Linked DNA regions of Homo sapiens: all the other regions are linked to region 2. Evidence: promoter capture Hi-C in human tissues and cell types (Jung and others, 2019). All regions are on one chromosome and are shown on one strand. The core of a region is centred on a gene start or on the middle of the fragment in contact, and the rest is flanking DNA. Distances in the headings are between cores, read along the strand shown. Region 1 overlaps IL2RB-AS1 (IL2RB and C1QTNF6 antisense RNA 1). Region 2 holds the start of PVALB (parvalbumin). Region 3 holds the start of TMPRSS6 (transmembrane serine protease 6).

What was found. Contacts are between HindIII fragments. The study calls those that stand out against the background at their distance.
Region 1: a fragment that was not itself captured here is called in contact with the fragment with the promoter of PVALB in region 2 in 1 of the 25 tissues and cell types used here (H1 embryonic stem cells).
Region 3: the fragment with the promoter of TMPRSS6 here is called in contact with the fragment with the promoter of PVALB in region 2 in 2 of the 25 tissues and cell types used here (adrenal gland and lymphoblastoid cells).

The regions. Positions count from the first base shown.
Region 1 is chr22:37,176,377-37,180,466 of GRCh38, forward strand. All of the region lies in intron 1 of IL2RB-AS1 (IL2RB and C1QTNF6 antisense RNA 1), which reads left to right. C1QTNF6 (C1q and TNF related 6) reads right to left here. Exons shown (of 3, transcript NM_031910.4): 3 at 3,790-4,090. Among named protein-coding and RNA genes, the nearest start is that of C1QTNF6, 9.8 kb to the right of the region's middle. RefSeq lists an enhancer at 3,250-4,090. The HindIII fragment of the contact is 3,359 bases long and covers 689-4,047 here.
Region 2 is chr22:36,815,571-36,819,460 of GRCh38, forward strand. PVALB (parvalbumin) reads right to left here and starts at 1,465. Exons shown (of 4, transcript NM_001315532.2): 1 at 1,375-1,465. The coding sequence starts at 1,435. The HindIII fragment of the contact is 41,984 bases long and covers 1-3,890 here.
Region 3 is chr22:37,107,065-37,111,009 of GRCh38, forward strand. TMPRSS6 (transmembrane serine protease 6) reads right to left here and starts at 2,649. Exons shown (of 18, transcript NM_001374504.1): 1 at 2,439-2,649. RefSeq lists an enhancer at 879-1,380. The HindIII fragment of the contact is 35,568 bases long and covers 1-3,945 here.

The DNA.
Region 1 (4,090 bases), core at 1,118-3,617, 360 kb after region 2:
GCCAATGCCACCACCTCCAGGCTGCAACTCCACAGCCCACCTGACTGTATGCTACGACCCCAGCCCCCAGGTGCTGGTCACCACCGCCTCCTGTCCTCCTGGGTCTGAAGGCCAGCTGCTCCAAAGCCACGCCAGCTTAGCCCCACGCACCCTTGACTCGTGTCCTGGAAATCCCTCCTTCCTCTCTGGCTCCTGCGGCCACCCGCTGGCCTCACCCATAATGTTCTTGACATCTGTTTCTGGTCATGTTAAGTTTCTGCCTGTGTTTCTCCTTTCCTCCAGACGCACACGTGGCAGTATGTGGCTACTGTGACGGGCCTGCCAAGTGGAGGAGGAGGCGGGGAGAGGAGAGGGGGGCTGCAGGGCCTCCTCCCTGGCCAGAGACTGTTGCTTCTCACTTCGCCCCGCACCTTTCCCACGATGCTCAGAGAGGTCACTCATCGAACCCATGCCATTTGAGCACGGCTGTGTGCCAGACACTGCTAATACCGAGATACATCGTCACGTGGAGTCCTCTATCGGAACAAAGCCAAGACTCACAGAGAGGAAGTGACAAGCCCCGGTCATACTATAGGAAAAATAATGTTGTGCGCCCTGAACCAGGAGCTGGTCTAAGGAAAGGGTGTGCTGGGGTCAGAACCCGCAGCCTGGCTCCAGATTCCATACATGCCGGCGTCTGAGCACTCACCACCTCTCTCAGGCTTCCCCAGCCCTGTCCCGTACACTTAGTATTCTCTGGGACAACTGCTGCTAATTTCACGTTTTCTGTCCCACTGCCACTTCTCCATGGGTCCTGGTTTGGGGTTCTGAAAATAGCCATGCCCCTGCAGCCTTGGATACCCTGAAGTCCTCAGTGGGGTAAGAGAGAAGGGCTTTTGCATCTGATATTACAGATAAGGACAATATGGGGCCCAAAAAGGCTAAACGATTTACCCAGCACCCTCCAGTCCTCCAGCCAAACAAGGGACTCTCCTGGGCAGAGCTGCCACAGGAGCCCACCTCCTGGCACCCCGGCCTGCTGGCTTCCCACTGGCTAACGAAAGCCTTGTGGGAGAAACACCCTGGTAGACCCTTAATCCAAGCTGGACCCCGTCCCCCCAACAACCCCCAGCTGCCCTCCTGCCTCCTCTCTGCTGTTGAATCTCTCACCAACTTCAAAGTCAATTGGGGACATGCCTCCCCCTCCAGGATGACATCATGATTCACCCAGTTTCTAGGCGTTCTATGTCCTCCCCTGGACCATGGCACAGGCCCCCTCACTGCCTCCAGCTTCACCCTCTGCAGCCTGTGCTCCACCTGGCTGCAGAGTGATCTGCCTCTTAAAGGCACCCCAGCACCTAAGAAAGAGGTCAATCCTAGACTTAGCCTGACATTCCAGGCCTTTCCTGTCTCAAACCCCATTCTGCTCTCCTTGCCTCCTTTCCAGACATCTATCCAACCTACTGGTCTCTCCCACTGCCCAGAGCATAGACTACATTGGTCCGCCTGCAACCCTTTCCTCTCATCAGCTCCTTGCCCCATGTCAAGTGCCTTTGAGACTCCTATTCACCCTCCAAGGCCCTTCCCACATGTCCCCTCCACTAAGAAGCCTTCCCAGATCGCCACATAAGAATTATCTACTCCCTTCCCCACACTCCCATGTGGCAGAGGAGCTCCTGCGCTCATCTCCCCAGGAAGGCTGAACACTTCCAGACACAACCTAACCTAGCCCATGAAATGGATCCAGCCCATCTATCCAGACAGCAGGTCACCAGGGACACCATCAAGCTAAAATCCCTGCACCAGCTCTGCCCCTGATTTTAACTCAGGCTCCCATCTAATCACCCTTTCCCCCTTAATCTTCCCTGCACTTGCCCCGGGCCACTCAACAAAACGATGGCAAGGTGGGGGTGAGGTCGCCCTGTCTGGGGTACACTCCTTGTCAGGGGTATTTTTCATTTCCCACGGCTGCTTCCCCTCTTGACCACCCTTTCCTTCCCCTTCCTCATTGCCTAACGTTTCAGGCGGAAAACGTTTTCAAAATATGTAACTTAAAGGGATTGCCCCAGAGGTGATTACATGGGCATTCAGCCAGCTTGCTGAGGTCATCAGTACTAAGCATGGCAGATCTCCTGGGGGACGCTGTGCCCCACAGACCTGGCAGCAGGATTGGGGGCCTCCAGTTTCCCAGGACCTTTGACCAACCCCCGCCAAGAACGTGCCCATTGGGAGAAGCTTGTCACAAAGATCTAGTGGCTCTTAGCACCCATCCGGGTGCCATTGAGTCAGAAACCCAGACCTAGCGCAAAAAAACCTGGCCTAGACAGTCCAGAGGCCACATCTGAGCCCTGGGTGGAGGAATGTGTGCAGTGGGTCAGATGGGATGACACAAAGACAGCCGGCCTCTGTTCCCTGAACTAATGTGGCCTGGAACTGTCTGGGGGACTTGGCTTCAGTTTACAAAGGATAAGCTTCAATCCTCCTGCAGGCACTTGGCAAGAAGTTTCAAAGCTTTGCTGCCTCAGCGATCAGCAAATGGCTCATCCTTGTGCTGTACACGACAAAAGGCTCCTGGCTGGCACTCAGGACAGCCTTTGTCCCAAGGCTGGTGAGGCCGATTGTGTACAAATAGAGCCTGGCCCAGAAACACGCTGGAGATCGCTCCCCGGGGTAGCCTCTGACATGGGAGGAGCCTCTTTGGCAAGAGCTGTATGACCCTGAGGTGCAGTGGGAAGCCTCCCTTCAGTGTCAGGGGACCTCCGAGGAAACGGAGACCTGTCTGCCCCTGCAAGGTGGGCTGCTGGGCTGGGCTGAATCCTGGCACAGGTGTATGGTCAGTTCTCGATAGCATGCTTCTTCCACCTGGTGCCCAAAAGCCATGCAACACACCAGGGACAACACAGATAGAGCAGGATGCCCGGTCAAGTCTGTTGGGAAATCAGCGTCGGTCACTTTAAATATACTTATGTGAGTAGCCACCAGGCTAGCCTAGAGAGTCCAAACTTGACGACATATTAGAAAGCCAGGCCGGGCACGGTGGCTCACGCCTGTAATCCCGGCACTTTGTGAGGCCGAGGTGGGCAGATCACAAGGTCAGGAGTTCAAGACCAGCCTGGCCAACATGGTGAAACCCCCATCTCTACTAAAAATACAAAAATTAGCTGGGCGTGGTGGTGGGCGCCTGTAATCCCAGCTACTCGGGAGGCTGAGGCAAGAGAATCACTTGAACCTGGGAGGTAGCGGTTGCAGAGAGCCAAGATTGCGCCACTGTACTCCAACCTGGGTGACAGAGAGACTCCATCTCAAAAAAAAAAGAAAGCCAGATCCATCAAGATGCTCCACTGTACAATGTAGTAGTGTGTGTTTTCCCACAGAGAAGATCCAACAGTTCTCTCATCATAATTAAACGCAAAACATGCGACAGGGTCCCCGGGGCGGGAGGTGGGGGGGCTTGCGTGTGCCTCACTGGAGCATAAACGGCACAGGTGCTCAGCTCTGCGCCACACAGTTGGCGCTCAGCAGATGCTGAGCATGAACGCGGCACTCATCAAGCAACCTGGCATCTGATCCTTATGTCCACCGCATGAGGTAGATTACCATTGTCCCCATTTTACAGACAGGAAACCGAGGCGCAGAGATATGGGGACTTGCCCGAGGTCACAACCAAAGAGTGACACGGCTGACTCTATGCTGGTGCCACTAGCTCCAAGGCGCGCCAGCTGCGTGAGTGACCTGGGGGCTCGCTTCTTTGTGGGCAGGGAGCACGCAGAGTGGGCAGAGGGAGCCGAGCAGAAAGAACCAGTCTGAATCGCCAAGAGGAGACAGCATTCTTTAATCATGCTGGACGGCAGGGCGTGGCGGGGTCAGGCAGGGGCAGGATCAGGCAGGGTGGTTTATAGCACAGGTCTTCCTGGCACTTGGTCAGACCCTGTTTCCGTCATCTGGCCATGGAGCCACGGCTCCTCGGCTGTGAGCACCAGAGATCACCCCCCGGGGCACCTCAGCCCCAGAGTCTGCATGAGCACCAATGGGCGGAGGCCGCCTCCCTCTGGGGAGAAGGGCAGGCCACCTGGGTTTGGAAGGCTAGGGGAACACCAGGCCACCCCACCCT
Region 2 (3,890 bases), core at 215-2,714:
GGAAGACTTTTGAGTGCCAGCTGGTTGGGAGTGGGCTGGGGAATTGAAGGGGGCATGAACATGGTCCTGGGGTTAGGGGGAGGAGGGTTGACCTTCTTTCTTGGCCACAGACTTTGTTGCCAGAAAATTGACATAGAAAGGACAGGTTTCCCTCAAGGTCATACAGTGGGAGGAGGAGGGGCAAACCCGGAAGTCCTGGCTCTGCGCAGAAATCCACTTCGGAGGCAGTGGGAAGGGGGTGTTAGGAGGCTCCCGAGAAACACCCAGTTAAGTTTCTTCCCACATGGGCTTGAGGTGAAGGGAGAGGGTTATCCCAGGACCCTGGGAGGGTGGCTTCCCAGAGAGGTTCTTGTGCCCAGGGGAGGGGGTGCAAAGCAGAAAGGAAATGGGGGTCCTTTTCTACCTGCAATTTTCTGTATCTTGGGGTCCTGTTTTAGAACACCTGGGGAAGGGTACAATGTTAGATCATGTATTTTGTGTGTGTGTGTGTGTGTGTGTGTGTGTAGGGAATGGCTGTTGAAGTCATGTTCTCTTCCCCTCAGCACAGGGCTAGAGACAAGGAAAGTTGCCCTGTCCACCTCCGACACTAGGCTGGGCAACCCAGTTCTAATACCCCTTCTGCCCAGCTAGGTGACCTTGGGCAAATGTCTTGTCCTCTCCAAGACAGTTCCCTGATTTCCCCATCTGGAGGACAGGGGAGGAGGAAGGCGGGCAGCTTAGCGCTGAAGTCCCGGGCAGCTGGGAGAGGTGAGACTGCCAGTTCCCCTCCCCTGCCCGCCTAAGGAGGCTGGAGGTTTGAGGCACTGAGGATGCCCCGTGCGGGCTTAGGCAGAGCTGTGCGCCGGCTCCAGAAGGTCACCTCGCCCGCAGGTCCGTTGCTGAATCTCAGTAAAGGAACTAGGACAGTCAGGGGGCCAACAAAGGCTACCGCCTGGCGGGAAAAGTCCTGTCCAGAATGAGGGTCCAGGAAAGGGGTCTCTTGGAGAGGAGGATGCCCCCTGCAGTCCCCTCTAAGTGCCTTAAAGAGGACGTCCAGAGAGCTCGTACAAGGACCCTGGAGGTCTCTCCTCCGACCCTGGTCTTCGCCCTTGGTCCCGGACCCTGAGTCCTCCCAGCCACCGGGCCTTCAGCACCCTCAAGTTTCTGTAACTTAGGCGGGGCGCCCTCTTCCCCGCCCGCTCCCCGCGCCAAGCCTCGCCCGGACAGAGTTTGGGAACTGCCAAGGACGCCCCCGCCCCGACCTCGCCGGCGCCCAGCGGGAAGTGTGGGCAGAAGCGCGCTGGGGAGGATCCGCCGGCTGCGGGGCCGGCGGAGTGCAGGGGCGCGGGCGGTGGACGAGGGGAGAGGGATGGGGAGGGGAGCGCGCTTGCTCACCGCTAAAGGCTCCCACCGCCTTCTTGATGTCCTCAGCGTTCAGCAAGTCTGTCATCGACATCCTGCAACTGTTTGAGCGGGCAGAGCAAGTGCGAAAAGATTAAAAAGTGCTTTTCTCATCATTTCTGCTCATATGACCAGCGCTGCAGTGCTGCGCGCCGGGCGCACGCCCGCCGGGCCTGGCATGGCGCCAGGGGCCCGGACTCTGAGCGCAGCGGGAGCGGCTCAGTCCAGCCGCGCCGCTGAGCAGCGCCGGCCGCCGGCAAGAAGGCGCGCGGACCTGCTACCACTCCTGCACCGCCAGGCCAGGGGTCCGCGGGATCCCAGGGGCTGCGGCCAGGGCACGAGGGAAGGGGCCACCTCTGGGATTTAGGGGGCACTGGCGTCACCAGCTGGGTCTGGAAAGTCCACCTGCCGTCAAGGACACGCAGGAGGTGCGCCGTCTCAGATCTGGGAACCTTGGCGGATGTCCTGCCGCGTGGGGGAAGATCCTGAACCTTCAGCGGCCAGCCTGCACCTCAGGACCTCCTAGGCCCTGCTCCCTTTCTCTCTCCACTCCTACCTCAGCCTCTGCTCTGGTCTGTCCTGGATGCAAATTTATGCTGCAAAATCTGAGCGCTGAGGTCCTGAAACCTGACCCACCCGACGCAGGGAGGAGGTGGCAGGGACAGGGACAGGGACAGGCAGGAGCTGCTGGGGCCCACTTCGGGTGCCCCATCCCACATCTGGCCAGGGATGCATATTCTAAAACCTGATTTGATGTTTTACTTTTATTTTTTATTTTTTTGCTGGCTTGATTTTTCGAAGAACACTTCTCAGATCTCTACTAACTACTTGCTTTCCTGGTCTCCTGGGTCCTGGCATCATGGGTCCAGACTCCCCCTACTCCTATAAACCTTTTTTGGGCAGAGTAGGGTGGGAGAGTCCGCTTGGAATTGCTATGCTCCCTCCCAGAAAGCCCCATATGTGTTTGGAAGAAGGGTAGCACCTTCAGACCACACTTTCTAGACAACCTAAGCAGGTGTAGGGGTCTGAACTTCACCTCTGGAAAAATGTCACGGTGCCTATCTGTATGCAGCCAGAGACCCGTTGTGTTCTTCCCCATGGTTCCCAAGGTTTCAAGCTGCAACCAGCTGCTTCTAGAGTGTGTGAGCGCTGGACAGGGAGTCAGGAGGCCTGGGTTCTAGATCCTGGGCTGCACTAAGTCCCAGTGTGACCTTGGGTTGTGACCTTCTCTGGGCTTCTGTCTCCTTCTGATGTGTTGATGACGTCAGTGGTCCCATGTAGTGGGACCTGGGGACTGCAACTTAAGGTATTGGCAGGTAGGCAGGGCCTTGGGCTGTGGTGGCCCTGGGTGGTGGGGACCAGGGAGAGCAGCTGTCCAGCTGCCCAGTAACTCAAGTTCCCTGACATCGCTGTCAACATTGTCTCCTGCAGCTCAGCCCTGGATGGCTGCCCTTCCTGGAAACCTTAGGATACCTCTGCTGGCTCCAGCTGCCCCCTCCCTGTGAGTCAGCTCCTTCAAGCCACAGCCCGCCAGATGGCTTCCAAGGCACCAAGGATGCAGCTCCTGACCTGATGCCTCTCAGCTCCAGGACTTCCCAGGACCCCTCAGCTGCCCTGGACCCTGCTGCTACTGCCGTCACCTCTGCACCTTGTCCCCAGCTGGGCTGCTGACTCAGATATGCCAGGCTCCTATGCTATCATTTCAACTCCCAGGCTCAGCTCACTCCAGGAGCCTAGTTGGAGAATGGATTTCCCCAGCTGAAGGACGCTTCAGCTATACCAGTGGAGAAACGGAGGCACAGAGTCCGTGAATGGTCTAAGGACACATGGTAAAGCAATAGCAGAGCAGGGTACACCCCTGGACTCACTCGTGTGGAGTTCAGTGACTCTCTGGGTGATCCTCCCTGGTGCCTGGGACCCAGCTCTATCAGGTCCCATACATCTCAGCCACACACTGGCTCCTGGTGAGCCCCTAAGCAGCTACCCTGTGGCAAAGGCTGCAGCCTCAACAGGGGCCCACTCTTCTTCCATCTCCTTCCTCCATCTCTCCCTGCTGCTGAGTTCTCCTATCAACTTGACACCCCCTCCGGGACTGAGCCCTCCCAGCCAGAGCATCAATGTCATTAGGTCAGCCCATCAGCCCTGGGTAGTCCTCCTCTGCCCTCTGGGTCCTCTCTGATGGCATCACCAGAGTCCACAGATGTCTGACTCCAGCCCTCTCGTTCTAAGGCTGGGGAATCTGAGGCCCAGCCACGGGGGGCGGTGGGTGGGGGGAGTTTGCCCCAGGCCACACCAGGAGTCTGGGTGGAGAAGCAGGAATGCATGCTCTCAGCCCTACATTCCACAGCTGCCCTGCCTCCAGCACCCCCACCGCACCCCCCTCCCCGGGTCACTACGGACAGGGGAGATGTAGCTCTCCCTTCCAGCTGGCTCATCCTGCTGCATCCCTCTATCCTCCAACCTCGGTAGCTGCCACTCACCTCGGGTGGGGGTGGAGGGCTGGAGCCTGC
Region 3 (3,945 bases), core at 1,399-3,898, 290 kb after region 2:
AAGGATCAGAAAGAATGAGTGAATGAAACTGCCAAGTCTCTAGGCCCCTGGTACAGGGCTTTCTATCTTGCTGCCTCCAGGAAGGAGGACTTGTGAGGCCTGGCACTGGGGCATGGACAATGGTGTGGGCCTGTGGGGTCCCAGGTTCAATGCTCAGTCACCCTATCTTTGTCTAGCACCTGCTTGGTGCCAGGCTCTGTGGTGGCGACAGGGTGGCACATGGTGACTCTAAGAGACCTCATTCCCATCCTCTTGGGTTTCCTGCCCAGCAGGAGGAGGGGCAGTGGACAGTTGTGAAGATGACGGTGCCACTCTTGTCTTTACTATCTTATAATACAACGGCTCCCCCATTCCCAGGGTCCAGCACCTTTGGAAAAGCCTGTGGCCCTACCTTCCAAATGCCCCCCAAAGCCAGCCCCTTCTTGGCCCCCCATGACTCCCACCATCATCCAGGCCACCGTCATCTGTCACCTCGACTCCTGCAATAGCCAATCACCCACCCCCCTACCCAGTGAGTTCTCACACAATGGCCACTGCGTGTTGTCACCATGTGCCCTGCCCACAAGCCTCGCACGGCTTCCATCCACCTAGAACACAGTCCCTAAAGACCCAGGGTCTCAGTTTTCCTGTCCTCTTTGCTGAATGGGAGGTTTGCTCCTTGCTGGGCCTGGGATGTTTTCCTTTCTGCTGGCCTCGTGGCTCCCTCCTTTACCTCCTCCAAAGGGTCAGATGTCACCTCTCCAGAGAGGCCTTCCCTGGGCACTCCCGTCTCTCCTGCATTTTTCTTTATAGCAATTACAGAGGCCTAAATTGCCTGATATGCAAATATGTCATTTATCTGCCTCCTCCCTGTCTGTAAGCTGCATGAGAGCAGAGTCTGGTACTCAGCGGACACTCAGTAATTGTTAAATGAATGAATGACAAGGTCCCAGCTCCTTCCTCCCTACAGAAGTCCAAGGTGCTGTGTGCATATGTGGCCTGGCCAACTTCTCCTGCCTCCTTTTTTCCCACCCTCTCTTTTCCCCGTCGCACCCCAAGGACACTGGACTTCCATTGGTGAGAAATTTTAACAATGGGATGGTAGCAAACATTTATGGATTAAGAGCAGCCAGCCGGCACCAAGAGCCCTCGTGGACCTTGAGCCCTGTCAGTGCTTGTTCACGGCCAGGCGTCCCCACACTCTTCCTTCTGCCTGGGCCCCCACCTCCCAACCTGGCCAGCTCTTATGCAGCCCCTGTCACCTCAGTTCAGACCTCACCTCTTCGCAGCTCTCCCAGAGTGCCCTAGAAGGGGCGGCTGCCCCTCGCGATGTGCAGCTTACCTGTGGGCACTCTCTCTTTGCCCCTCACATTGAACTCCTGGAAGCGGGGACTGTGCTCCAATTGCCACAGGGGCCTGAAGCAGTCCCCCAGCTCTGAGCACCATGGACCCCACCCTGGCACCTGCTCCTCACTCCCTCCTGCCCTTCTGGCCATTGGAGGGTCTCGGGTCTGCCTGCTGGAGGCTGAGCTCCTTGGGGCGGGGCCGCGACTCCCCCAGCAATGCAGATCCGGATTCAACCACTGCGTATGAACTCCTACCATGTGCCAGCCCTGTGCTGGGCAGTGCTGCAAACTCCACTGCAGCCTCCAACAGCCTGGGGTGCCTACTTTGCTGACTCTATTTAATGGCTGGGGAAACTGAGGTAGAGAGAGGTAACATGACTTACCCGAGGTCCCTCAGCCAGGGCAGAGCAGAGCAGAGCAGGGACTCTGGGCTAGGGCCATAGGGGCATCTTTCAGTGAAACCATTAGGCCCTAGAGTCCTGAGAGTGTGGGGGACTGGGTGGGGGTCCCTTCCACACATATAAACACACTCACAGACCCACAGATGTACACAGATGGAGACACGCGGAGGGATATACGCACATCTATTCATGACACAAAAATTCATAGATGCACGCCCTTCCTACACAGACACACACACGAACACACATACACATACATGCCAACTCTGAGCCTGTGAGCCCAGGGTCCTGGGCTTAAGTCAGTACATAGGTGCAATGTGGGGCTCCGGGCCTGTCTCCTACACCAGAAGGCCCAGGTGGGGTACCGGGTGTGGAGGGGGCAGCATGTCCAGTCCTGCGAGGCAGGGGTAGGGTGGCCTCTCCCTTCCTCCTGTCCCTGCCACCTGAATCCCAGGCCACCAACCACCCAGCACTGATGCTGTGCCTGTCCACACACCTGGTGTCACCCTGCGTGGTCCCTCCCCTCCCCAGCTCTGTGGGCCCCTCACCTTCTGCTCACTGATCACCCTCTGGCCGATGAGGCCCTGCAGGCCTGGCCTCGGAGCAGGGTAGGTGGCTCAGGCTGCAGGGAGCCAGGCCCAGCTCTTAGGGTGGACACTGTCACTAGGTCATTTATAGATCCCGGTCCCCTGTCCTGGAGGCCCCCGCTTACCTTTGGGAGCGGCAGATAGGTGCCGGGCCTGCACACAGGCCTCAGGAGCCTCTGTTTGTCCAGGCCAAGGCCTCCCCACCCCCACCCAGCCAGCCCAGGCTGGATCAATGGCCTAGAGCCATGACCAGGGTGTCTGGCCCTTGTCCCCTGTGGCCTGTGGCCTCAGGCTCCATGGAACTCCTCCTGCTGGGTCCTGGACAGCACTGTGACTAAGTACAGGTAAACAGGCAGGAGGTAGGAGAAGGCAGTGCCTGCCCCGCCCCATCTTCCCCCACCCCCGCATGGGCACCCCAGAGGCTGGCAGGCAGGTGCGGGAGATCTGAGCTCTCCCCCGAGGCCCGTTGCCTGGTGACATGCCTGCCTGGTTACAGCCCCTGGTCCCCGAGAGCATGAGGTAGGGACAGCCAAGGACTGGGGACTGTGCAGAGGCCGGTGCAGGTGAGTGCAGGGGCTCACAAGGGTGAGTCCAGGTGCTTACCTGGACAGGCGAGACTAAAGGAGCTGCTGGCCTGAGAGAGAGAAAAGGAGGCTGGGCCCATATACTCTGGGGACTGGAGAGGAGAAAGGGGAGGCAGGGGTGGGGTTTGATGCTATTTTCTGTTTAGCTGGGAATTATTTGAATTCCTACCTCGTTCTTTTTTTTTTTTTTTTTTTTTTTTAAGATGGAGTCTCACTCCGTCACCCAGGCTAGAGTGCAGTGGTGTGATTTCGGCTCACTGCAACCTCCGCCTCCCGGGTTCAAGCAATTCTCCTGCCTCAGCCTCCCAGGTAGCTGGGATTACAGCGCCCACCACCATGCCCGGCTAATTTTCATAATTTTAGAAGAGATGGGGTTTCACCATGTTAGCCAGGCTGGTCTCGAACTCCTGACCTCAAGTGATTCCACCCACCTCGACCTCCCAAAACGCTAGGATTACAGGCATGAGCGACCGCACGCAGCATGAATTCCTACCTGGTTCCGTAGCGCTGTGCTGTCCATGACGGTAGCCGCTGGTCACCCGTGGCTCTTGAGTCAGTCTGAACTGAGAAAAGCTGCACGGGGGAGACGCACACCAGGTTTCCAAGGCCAAGTGCAAACAGGATGTCAACCAACGCGATAACAATTTTTATATTGATTTTATGTTGAAATAACACTGGTGATCATGGGATAAATAAAATGTATTATTAAAAGCAATTTTCTTCTGGCTCTCTTGTTTTTTTTTTTTTCAGAGACAGGGTCTCATTAGGTTGCCAGGCTGGTCTGGAGCTCCTGGGCCCACATGATCCTCCTGCTTCAGCCTCCCAAGTAGCTGGGATTACAGGCGCGGGCCACCACACCCCTTGTTGCATGTGGATATTAGACAGGTTAAGTCACAAGTGTGACCTGCGTTGTTGTTCTATGGAACAGCGTTGCTGTGGAGATGGGTTTGAGCCATATGCGTGCCGAAGTGCCGGATGGGAGCCAGGGCTTTCTAGGGTGCGTGCAGGGCAGCGGGCGTCTGTCTCAGACAAGGCTGACTTTCAGCGA